Regions from separate parts of the Homo sapiens genome. Here regions 1 and 2 are each linked to region 3. The links are contacts of gene promoters, found by promoter capture Hi-C in blood cells and fetal thymus (Javierre and others, 2016). All regions are on one chromosome and are shown on one strand. The core of a region is centred on a gene start or on the middle of the fragment in contact, and the rest is flanking DNA. Distances in the headings are between cores, read along the strand shown.

Region 1 (3,281 bases), core at 219-2,718, 1.0 Mb after region 3:
TGGAGGTTGCAGTGAGCTGAGATCGTGCAACCACACTCCAGCCTGGACGACAGGGTGAGGCTCTGTCTCAGAAATAAAATAAAACAAAATAGTTGTGTCATTTTACATTTCCACCATCATTGTATGAGATCTCCAATTGCTCCACATCCTAGCCAACACTTGCTATTATTTGTCTTCTTTATTTTTTTTGAGACAGAGTTTCACTCTGTCACCCAGGATGGAGTGCAGTAGCGCTATCTCAGCTCACTGCAACCTCTGCCTCCCAGGTTCAAGTGATTCTCCCACCTCAGCCTCCCCAATAGCTGGGATTACAGGCACCCGCCACCACACCCAGCTAATTTTTTGTATTTTCAGTAGAGACAGGTTTCGCCATGTTGGCCAGGCTGGTCTCAAACTTCTGGCCTCAAGTGATCCACCCACTTCGGCCTCCCAAAGTGCTGGGATTACAGGCCTGAGCCACCGCACCCGGCCTCTCCCTAGACTTTTGAAGGAAGTTTGTAGTTTTGGGTTTTCTGGAGCTTCAGCTTCCTTCTAGCTTCTCTCTACCAAACTGCCCTTGCAACAAATCTATGGGCACCGTGTCTGTGTAAATTTGTGTGTTTCCTTTTTTCAATTCCCTATCTGCAGTTTGTACTTGTTGCTCCCTCAGTTAGTAACCGGGCAAACTTTTAAGCATAGGTCACTGAGTCACACCTAAACATCCGACAACTGACACTAGAATCCTCACTCCCTGCAAAACCCAGAAATCTTCAGCTAACTAAGACTGTGGTGCCATCTACTGATAATTTAGCTTAACATCGGCCAAGTGTGCTTCAGCTAAAACAGTAAAAGCAAAAACAAAACTGAAACTTAAACAGTTATGTATAAAGAGCAAAGATTCTCACCCACAATGTTACTACACACTGGTACCTTTTTTTTTTTTTTTTTTGAGACGGAGTCTCGCTGCATAGCCCAGGCTGGAGTGCAGTGGCACGATCTCAGCTCACTGCAACCTCTGCCTCCTGGGTTCAAGCGATTCTCCTGCCTCAGGCTCCTGAGTAGCTGGGACTACAGGCGCATGCCGCCAAGGCCGGCTGATTTTTTGTATTTTAGTACAGACGAGATTTCACCGTGTTGCCCAGGCTGGTTCCGAACTCCTGAGCTCAGGCAATCCGCCGGCCTCGGCCTCCCAAAGTGCTGGGATTACAGGCATGAGCCACCGCGACCGGCCTGGCACATTTCTTTAGTTGTAAGATATGATGGAAATACTTATCATTGGTCATAAATAGTTCAGGCTTAAAGCTTAAGAAAGATTTGGTATAATCTATAACACATTCTCTCTCAATCTTTCTCTCACACACACGTGCACACTCCACAACTAACCCACTAGCAAATCCAAAACACTGTCTATGCAGAATCTGACCACTTTTCACCACCTGCATTGCTTTCCTCTAATATAAATCACCATCATCTCTAGCCTGGATTATTGCTGATGGGAGGATAAATTCTCCTCTACTCCCTTGGGATCGTCTAAAGCTAAGTCTAAGAATTAAATGGACATAAACCAGATTAACAGAAAAGCATACAAGTGTTACTAATTTTTACTTGCACATGAAGACTCTCACAAGATGAAAGGGGCGACGACCTGAAGAAAATGGCCAGAACAGAAAGCTTTTATACCTTTTGGACAAAGAAATGATAAATTTATGAAGAAATGATAAGACAAAGGGATTTGGACTAGGGGCAGTAAATTGCGGGGGAATCACTAGGAGATATATGGTGATGAAGGGACCATACCACTGTCTGCGGTATAAACCCGGGGTTTGTCGTCAGGCGCCAGGAAAATTTAGGACACTGACACACACAAGGAGTGTAGGAGCAGAGGTTTAATAGGCAGAAGAGAAGGGAAAGAGAAACAGCTTTCTCTATAGAGAAATGGATCTGCGAGTGGAAAGGACCAGCCGGCAGTGGATGCGCCGAAGTTTATAGTCAGGTCTGAGGAGACGGTGTCTGATTTACATAGGGCTCATAGATTGGTTTGATCAGGTATGACGTTTACACTGTGCGCAGGGGAAGCCTGGTTACCCCACCCTAATCTTATTATGGAAATAGACTTTCTAGTTGATCAACACCATCTTGTCTGCTCCTTACAGTACACGTGGCTGACAAAGGGAAGGGAAGATGGAGCCTCCAATTTGAACATGTGTACTCCGAAGTTCCTCCCTGCGTTCACTCGTGCAAGCTCCCAGCTTGCTTGTCTGTGTCTGCAGCTCGGCTTTACAGAATGCTCTTTGTTAGAAAATGATTTGGGGCTGCTTTTCATGAAAAAGAAAAGCCTTACTGAGGATTCCCATACTCCTACTATCTGCCTAAGTGATTTCTTCTAAACTCCTGTATCAGTGAAGTGCAAAGCTAGTGAAAGGTAAGTGTTCGTTTAGTAAGTTTATCTGTATAGGTCCATTGTAGCATCAATTCCCAGTCTCTGGAGATAAGGGTTATTTTCTCTTTCTACTAAAGGAAGGCATCGGCCGGGCGCGGTGGCCCATGTCTGTAATCTCAGCACTTTGGGAGGCGGAGGCGGCTAGATCACACCTGAGGTCAGGAGTTCCAGACCAGCCTGGCCAACGTGGTAAAACCCCGTCTCTACTAAAAATACAAAAATTAGCCATGCGTGGTGGCACGCACCTGTAATCCCTGCTATTCGGGAGGCTGAGGCTAGAGAATTGCTTGAACCCGGGTTGCCTCACTGCAACCCGGGAGGTGGAGGTTGCAGTGAGCCGAGATTGCGCCACTGCACTCCAGCCTGGACGACAGAGCAAGACTCCGTCTCAAAAAAGAAAAAAAAAAAAAGGGAAGGCATCTTTCTCAAAGGAATTTTTATGGCTTCCTAAAGGTAGGAATGGACACGTCAGTGGGGAGGGCAAAGCAACTCCATCCTGGATGCTAATCCATGCTGGTTTCTGATTAACGCCAGTTCCAGGAAGTCTTGTAAGACTTCCAGTTTATCTATTGTTCCTTGTGTAAGAGCACGTACTGACTGTAAATCCTGCCCTTAGGTCAAGTGGCCTTGATGTTATCATACTTAAGTTGTTCTCCACGTCCCTTCTGAATCACTCCTCTCCTGGGGTATATAAGCCCTGGGTTTGAGGGGTAATGGTGCGGGGATCCACCATCTTGTCTCACTGCTTCCTGAGATACAGACATGGCTTCTGTTCTAAGTCCCTAGTAAACGTTTCTTCCTAAGAAACTGGATGTGTCAGCCTCTTTCTTCCACCTCTCAGCTTCCTTGGCCGCAGGTTTGC
Region 2 (3,506 bases), core at 612-3,111, 1.1 Mb after region 3:
TACAGGGCTGCGGAACTGGAGCGCCTTGGCTATTTACACTGACCTGGAAAATGTCAGGATAAATGACAGAAGGCGGGGGTTGGTGACTGCACTCCTTCTAGAAGTCTCAACGCTTTGTGGGTATTGAGTTGTGTTTTTTCCCCCTCACGGTTGACTTGTCACTAAGTCACTAAGGATGGCCTGTAAATGGGGTGACGGCTGGGGGAAGGGAGGACCTTAAAGTGAGACAGGCACCCCCACACAGGTCACAGTTTAAAAGACGATGGTTCAGACCGTTATGCGAAATGATCTCAGAGCGGCTGTTCACCTTCCCCAAAGCTGCATTAAAAGAAATAAGGATGGGTGACAACCCCTTTAGAAGACAGACCCCCACACTGAGGCTAGCCCTCTTATCGGCTGGCCAGGGCGAGGAGGGGTGTGTGCAGGGTCGCCCTCGATGCCGCAGCCGGGGCCAGTGGGCACGAATGCGGCCCCACGCCAGGCTTGGCCTCCGAACCCGCTAGGCGCGCGCGCACGGTAGAAGCGCGCGCCTCCGTCCCTCGCGAGCGCGCCCCCCACCCCTCTCCGTCGCACGCGCCGAGCCCCGGCGCCCCCGCCCGCCCCGCGCTCCCACAGCCCGAGCGCCGCTCAGCTGACCCGCGGGCGCCAGACGCGGCGGCTCTCAGCTCGCGAGCGCAGCTGCGGCTGCGAGGGCCTCTCAGGCCGACACTCCCCCCGCGCCCCTCCCCCACCCGGCCGGGCTCCGGACCCGCCGCGCGCGAGCCCGCGGCCGCTTCCCCCGCGCCGAGCGAGGAGGCAGGCTGCGGCGGCGAGAGGCGGCTGCGCGGCCATGGGCGCGCCAGTGTCGCCCTAGGGCGGGCGCACAGACCACAGCCGGAGCGGTGGTGGCAGCCTCCGCAGAAAGCCTTCCCGGGCGGCGGCGGCGGCGGCCCCTGGAGCAGCGCGGCCGGGATGAGCGGGAGCTGCGCGGCGCCCGGCCCGGGCTCGGGCTCCTCCCCGGCCGCCTGCCGCTTCGCGCACTACTTCGTGCTGTGCGGGATCGACGCGGACAGCGGGCTGGAGCCTGACGAGCTGGCGGGTAAGGCCAGGGCTGCGGCGGCGCTGAGCCCCCTCAGGGGCGCGGGGGACGCTGTGGGGACGCGCGGGAGGCGGGGTGCAGGCTCCAGACAAAGTCAGCTCCCGGTGGCGCCCTCCCGCCGCTTTCTGGCCGAACTGGCGCTCGGGCGCGATTTAATGACATTGTTATTTATTCCGCGTGCGGGCTTTGCGGCTGCGCCCACCGGGGCTTTCGCCTCCAGGCGCTGGGTTATTAATAACAGGCGCGGGGGTGGCCCCAAGGGCACGGACCCCGCCTGGCGCGCCGGCCCCTTCGCTTGCAGCCGCACTCGGAGGCGGCCGGTGAGTCACCGGGCGCGCGGGCTGCCCCCCGACCGCCGTGCCTGCCTCCCACCCGCCAGCCACCCGGCCCCGGCCGCGAAGTTTCGGCCCCGCACGTGACGCGGCTTTCGGGCCTCTTCGGGAGACGGGGAGTCGGACTCAGCTCGGCTCCCGCCGGGGTAGCGTCCGCGGAGGAGCCGGTGGCCGTGCGGAGCGAGCGCGGGGCGGGGACCGGTCGGACTCTGCCCTCTGCGCCGCCTGCCGCTCTGCGGTGCCGGCCAAGTCACCTTTTGGAATCCTGTGGATTTGGCCGCGTCTGGGAGCTGGCAGGGACCTTTGGACGCTCGGGACCCAGCACCGCGCTTTGTTGACACTGCCTACACTGTTCCCGAGTTTAAATTCAGTTGGGTGCACCGTGTGTTAGTGCCTGGTTTTCCCGGAGGGGTACCGGTCCTTCCGCTTGACTCATTTGATGGCGCAGTGCGGGGCTGTGCTGGGCAAACGACGCCGTTAAAAGGGGCCGCTAAAGGGCGATGGGCGGGGGCAGGGCAGCGGAGTGCGCAGTGTCGAGAGGAGGCCGGGGAGAAACAACTGATTTCATTTTTCACGCCTGTTCCTTTCTGCTTGCCTCCGCGGGATCTGAATCTTGATTTGTTGTTGTTGTTAAATGGGTGAGAGAAGTGACATCTACCGCCTGAACTTTGTGTTAAAGACTTAGGTCATAGCCTTTCAGAACAACTTCCTTTGGACAAATAATTCCTTATTGATTGCACTAACGTAAATTTTTCGCTTTTCCTTTGGTGGGGGTGGGGAGACTGGGAAGAATATATTAAATAATAAACAATAGTAAACAAAACTGTTCAGCCTTAAAATACAGTCCCCATCAACCCACGTCTTGGCTATCTTCTTCTTAACTCAGCTTCAGAGCAAAACATTTTCTTTTTTTCATATTCTTCGGAGGTAGAAACACAAAACATTTTCAACAAAAACTGTAAGTCTAGTTTTAGTTAAAAAAAAATTTGGAGAGATAATAGAATACCAAGTTTTTCCGTATGTGTAATTATGTAATCACATTGTTTCTTCAACTAAGATTTCATGTACATGTTAAGAATGGCTTTGTTAAAGGATATGAAGAAAAAATGTCTGCAGAGAGATTTGGAGAGATTCTTCTCGAGATTGGTGAAGGAATATTGTTATTTTTCTAGACTCCTTTCTTCCCTAAAGATCCTAAACATTTGTGGCACCAGGGTCACTTGGAGGCCTTCTGTCAGTGATGACTAATGAAAGGAAAAAAGCCTGTATTTTTCTTTTCCGTTTGCCTACTGAAGCTAAAACTGTACCTTTTAGGTGTGACCTAGGACTCTTTAGGCACAGAGAGAATGATGTTAACAAAACCATCAATTAGACTTTAATGCATTTTTAAGAAACAAACTATGATGTCTCTTTTTGCAAAACTGTGTGAGTGTGGGTGATTGGGATTTCTGCTTCTCATAATATTTAATGTATTCAGGTAATAATGTATTTTGCCTTGTAATATTTCAGTATCATTCATCCAACAGTTTTGAAAGCATCTATCTGTAGTCGGTTTTTTAGGCACTGGGGACAGCTGTGAAGAAAGCAGTCAGAAATCCCTGCCATCATGGAGCATACGTTCTAGTGTAAAGAGATAATGAAAATACAATCATCTCTCCGTAACCATGGGGGATGGATTCTAGAGTGTCCCCCACACCAAAATCCTCGGATGCTGAAGTCTCTTATAATAAAATGTTGTAGCATTTGTATATAACCTATGAACATTTTCCTGTACACTTTGTCATCTCTAGATTACTTACAATACCTGTTACGTTGTAATGTTATGTAAATAGTTGTTATACTGTATTGTTTAGGGAATAATGACAAGAAAAGAAGTCTGTACATGTTCAGTACAGATGCAACCATTGTAGGCCTAACTACATTTTCAATCTGTGCTTGGTTGAATCTGTGGATGCGGAGTCCACGTGAAGTGCCGACTGTATATAGTTCTCCAGATGTTAATAAGTGCTATGAGGAAAAATAAAGCAGGGGAGTGGATTTAGGGACATGCCAGCAGAGTGGTGGGATGGTGGGGTTGTGATTTTAAATAAGATGGT
Region 3 (3,673 bases), core at 886-3,385:
GGGACTACAGGTTCGCACCACCATGCCCAGCTAATTTTCGTATTTTTCGTAAAGATGGAGTTTCCCCACGTTGCCCAGGCTGGTCTTGAACTCCTGGAATCAAGTGATCTGCCTACCTCGGATAATTTCTATTCTGTATTTCTTCTGTACTTGAGTAAAAGACTGATTATCAGCTAATAAGAACTTAGATGGAAATAACCCTCATTAAATCAAGTAGAAAAACTGACCTCTTGAGAAATTTCAAACACCAACATGCAAATATAGCATATAACTGTCAGTACTAGGATGGTTTTTGCACATGTTAATGGCTTTCAGAAGGATGGGATCTTTACTTTTCTCTCCTGCCACTCTGTATTTTGCCAACAGGTTTACTGACCAAAATAAACTCTATTTTGTGTAAAAAGAAAAAAACAACTTATTGATTTTAAACTATTTATGCTGACACACTATATCCCTAATTCTTTTACTTCCTCATGCTTAAAAAGCACTGAGACTCTCTTTTAAAAGTATGTGGAAAGTTTCTAGTGTGCAGCTAGAAGACACTTCTGAATCACTTACTATCAAAGACTTAATTTATATTATCTCTAACTTTTTACAAAAACAGGTTAGTTTTGATGATAAAAGTCCCAGTGTTTTAAAACATTGTGGTTAGAGTGAGCAATATTTACTCAAAATATTTACAGAGCACTTACTATATGTCCCAGACTGAACAAAATTATGTTCAATAAAAAATAATCCTCGTAATTTGTTTGATGCTTCTGAGTCTCCAAACATTACAAATATTGTTACAAATACTAGAATACGTAGGCAAGATTGAGCAGAATCTTTCCCAATCCTATCGCAGACCAAGGAAATGTGTTTCTAAAACAATTTCTATTGCTTCAACTATTTAAAAGCCAAAAAAACAAACAAACAAACAAACGAGTACAGGGTGTCTATAGTTTCCAGTGTTTGGATAGCCACTAATACTTTGAACAGTAAGTTCCTTCTGATAGCACTTATACCCTATACTATGTACCTCCTGGAAAATGATGGGGAAACCGCTCCTTCTCAATAGAAAAGATACTATTAAGAAATGAAAGCACTTAATATCAATATACTAATTTCTAAAATCCGTTTCTCTGAACTCTAATCGAAGTAGCAGAGAAAAGGAAAATTATACTTCTCCTCTGTCACTCTAGAAATAACAGTTATTTTGCCAACATTTCTGCATTCAAAAAAAAATGAGTTAGCTATGAGAAGACCAGAGAAACTGATGCCCAATTTAGGTCACGATCACAAAACTGTGGAAGACAAAAAGCACAGCCTACGCAGAAAAATCGGATATTCCTTCCCAACACCCGCAGAACTCTAGATACACGTTTTGTTTTTCTTTTTTTAAAATGCTGCTTCGGCGTTCTCGAAACCTGGTGGAATTATACTGCAGGAAAACACTGGCGCTCACGCACCGTAGCGTCTCTCAGCCTCAACAGAGCGATTCCAAAACTAACTCCGCAGTCCCTGGGCAAGGCAAGGAGGGAAATAAAACACCCGTCTCACGAAAGCCAACAGTGATGGGAACAGCCAGCCCACCGAGCCCAGCGAGACCCGAGTGCCCCGCGCGTCCCCCAGGTGCCCTTGGAGGCAGCGGCACGCGGACGAGGCCGCGCCCGGTCCCAGCGGACTCCAGTTCCGCCCGCCGGCCCCATCCTTCCCTCTCCTGTCCCCGGGACCCGCCGGGCTAGCCAGGCCCGCCGCGCCGGCTCCGCCCCTGGCCGGGCCCCGGATTCTCCGCCTTGATGCAACGCTGCCCCGGGAGGGCGGGTGCGGCAGAGCCCGGAGAGCCCTGGGGCCCCCAGCAAGGCCCTCCTCCCACAGGCCCCAAAGGCTGGCGCGGGAGTGGGCGCTGGCGCGGGAGTGGGCACTGCCGCAGCACCGACCAGGCCTGCGGCCGGGGTCTGGCCCGAGCGAACGCCGCCTGCTGCTCTCACCTGCGTTCCCACTACGACGATTTGAGGCAGCTGGATGATGTCGGCGCCCACCGTGTTGAAGACGTCCTGGAGCTTGTTTATGACAGGAATTAGCGCCTCCATGACTCTGAAAACACGGGGCCCCAGTGCCCGCCGGCCACGGCAATGAATGGGGCCGGGGCCCACAGTTCGCCTCCTTCCTCCTCTCCTCCGCCCTCTCCTCGGAAGCCGGCACCCATTGGACCGGGCCCGCCGGCTACCTGCCCCCTCCCGGCAGGCCATGCGCTGCGAGGGAGGTGGAGAGGAGCAAGGCCTGCTGGGAGTTGTAGTTCTGGAGCGGAGGAACGCTACTCCCCACAGCTTCCAGGAGGCTGCGCGGCACCGGTGGGCCCTAGCCTGGGACTGGGATGCTGCGCAGGCTCTAGTCAAAGGCTAGGAGCAGGCCGGGAGCGCAGGAGGAAGGCCGTAAATTTATGCCTGTCCTCAAGGCACGATGGATGTGACAGTGCTGGGTGTGAATATGTGTTAAAGGCGCAATGGTGTGTCTCTTAATTATCCAGTGTCACTTCCTTTTATTTATTTTTTATTTATTTATTTTTTTTTTTTTTTTGAGACGGAGTCTCACTCTGTCGCCCAGGCTGGAGTGCAGTGGCGCGATCTCGGCCCACTGCAAATTCCGCCTCCCGGGTTCACGCCATTCTCCTGCCTCAGCCTTCGGAGTAGCTGGGACTACAGGCACCCACCACTACGCCCGGCTAATTTTTTGTATTTTTAGTAGAGACGGGGTTTCACTGTGTTTTCCAGGATGGTCTCGATCTCCGGACCTAGTGATCCACCCGCCTCGGCCTCCCAAAGTGTTGGGATTACAGGCGTGAGCAGTGTGACTTCCTTATGAAGACACTTTCTCTAGAAGGACGGGTTGGAAAGGCTTAAAGAAAAGCTTATGGCCGCAAACAACCAAACTGGGTGCAAAAAAATCTGCACGCTGATACGAGAATGTGTGGGGTGTTATTTTGCAAAAATACAAAAACCAGCCCAGGTTAGAATACGCGGGTTCTCCAGGGGTTTTGTAAACAAACAAACAAACAAACAAAATGTGTGTTCAGGACCGAGCGCGGTGTAATCCCAGCACTTTAGGAAGCAGAAGCAGGAGGATCGCTTGAGCTGGGAGTTCGAGACCAGCCTGGTCAACATAGTGAGACCTCATCTCTACCAAATAAATAAATAAATAAATAAAAAAGCAGGGGTCGGAGCAGCGGGGGGCGGTGTTCATGAAAAAAATCTTAGAGTATTGGAGTTTTACAGGGGAAGAGCTGGGCATTTATTATCAATATTATGTATAAACCTTTATTTGCTGTAGCCTGATTCCTGGCAAAGTAGACATCTGATAACTGCCTTACTCACTCTTTGCTCATACCGTTCTTTTTTTTTTTTGAGACAGAGTCTGACTCTGTCGCCCAGGCTGGAATGCAGTGGCGCAATCTCGGCTCACTGCAGCCTCCTCCTCCCAGGCTGAAGTGATTCTCCTGCCTCAGCCCCCCAAGTAGCTGTTATTACAGGCACCCGCCACCACCCTGGGAAAATTTTTGTATTTTTAGTAGAGACGGGTGGGGGGCGGGGTTTCACCATGTTAGCCAGGCTGGTCTCGAACTCCTGACCTCAAGTGATCCGCCCATCTTGGCCTCCCACAGTCCTGGGATTACAGGCCTGAGCCACCATGCCCG

Evidence for each region. Contacts are between HindIII fragments. The CHiCAGO score rates a contact against its expected background, and 5 or more counts as called.
Region 1: a fragment that was not itself captured here is called in contact with the fragment with the promoter of DNM1L in region 3 in 2 of 17 cell types (total CD8 T cells and fetal thymus); the score reaches 8.3 in total CD8 T cells.
Region 2: the fragment with the promoter of DENND5B-AS1 here is called in contact with the fragment with the promoter of DNM1L in region 3 in 1 of 17 cell types (erythroblasts); the score reaches 7.6 in erythroblasts.

The regions. Positions count from the first base shown.
Region 1 is chr12:31,650,856-31,654,136 of GRCh38, reverse strand. LOC124902913 (a long non-coding RNA gene) reads left to right here and starts at 2,079. Exons shown (of 2, transcript XR_007063269.1): 1 at 2,079-2,401. It also overlaps a transcript of ETFBKMT not described here. RefSeq lists an enhancer at 690-899 and a silencer at 1,030-1,089. The HindIII fragment of the contact is 369 bases long and covers 1,284-1,652 here.
Region 2 is chr12:31,588,278-31,591,783 of GRCh38, reverse strand. It overlaps DENND5B-AS1 (DENND5B antisense RNA 1), which reads right to left and starts at 1,861. Exons shown (of 3, transcript NR_046909.1): 1 at 1,665-1,861. DENND5B (DENN domain containing 5B) reads left to right here and starts at 648. Exons shown (of 21, transcript NM_144973.4): 1 at 648-1,078. The coding sequence starts at 952. RefSeq lists enhancers at 1-67, 2,048-2,127 and silencers at 498-787, 858-1,127, 1,278-1,617. The HindIII fragment of the contact is 7,998 bases long and covers 1-3,506 here.
Region 3 is chr12:32,677,763-32,681,435 of GRCh38, reverse strand. DNM1L (dynamin 1 like) reads right to left here and starts at 2,135. Exons shown (of 20, transcript NM_012062.5): 1 at 1,971-2,135. The coding sequence starts at 2,072. RefSeq lists a silencer at 1,578-1,987. The HindIII fragment of the contact is 13,395 bases long and covers 1-2,891 here.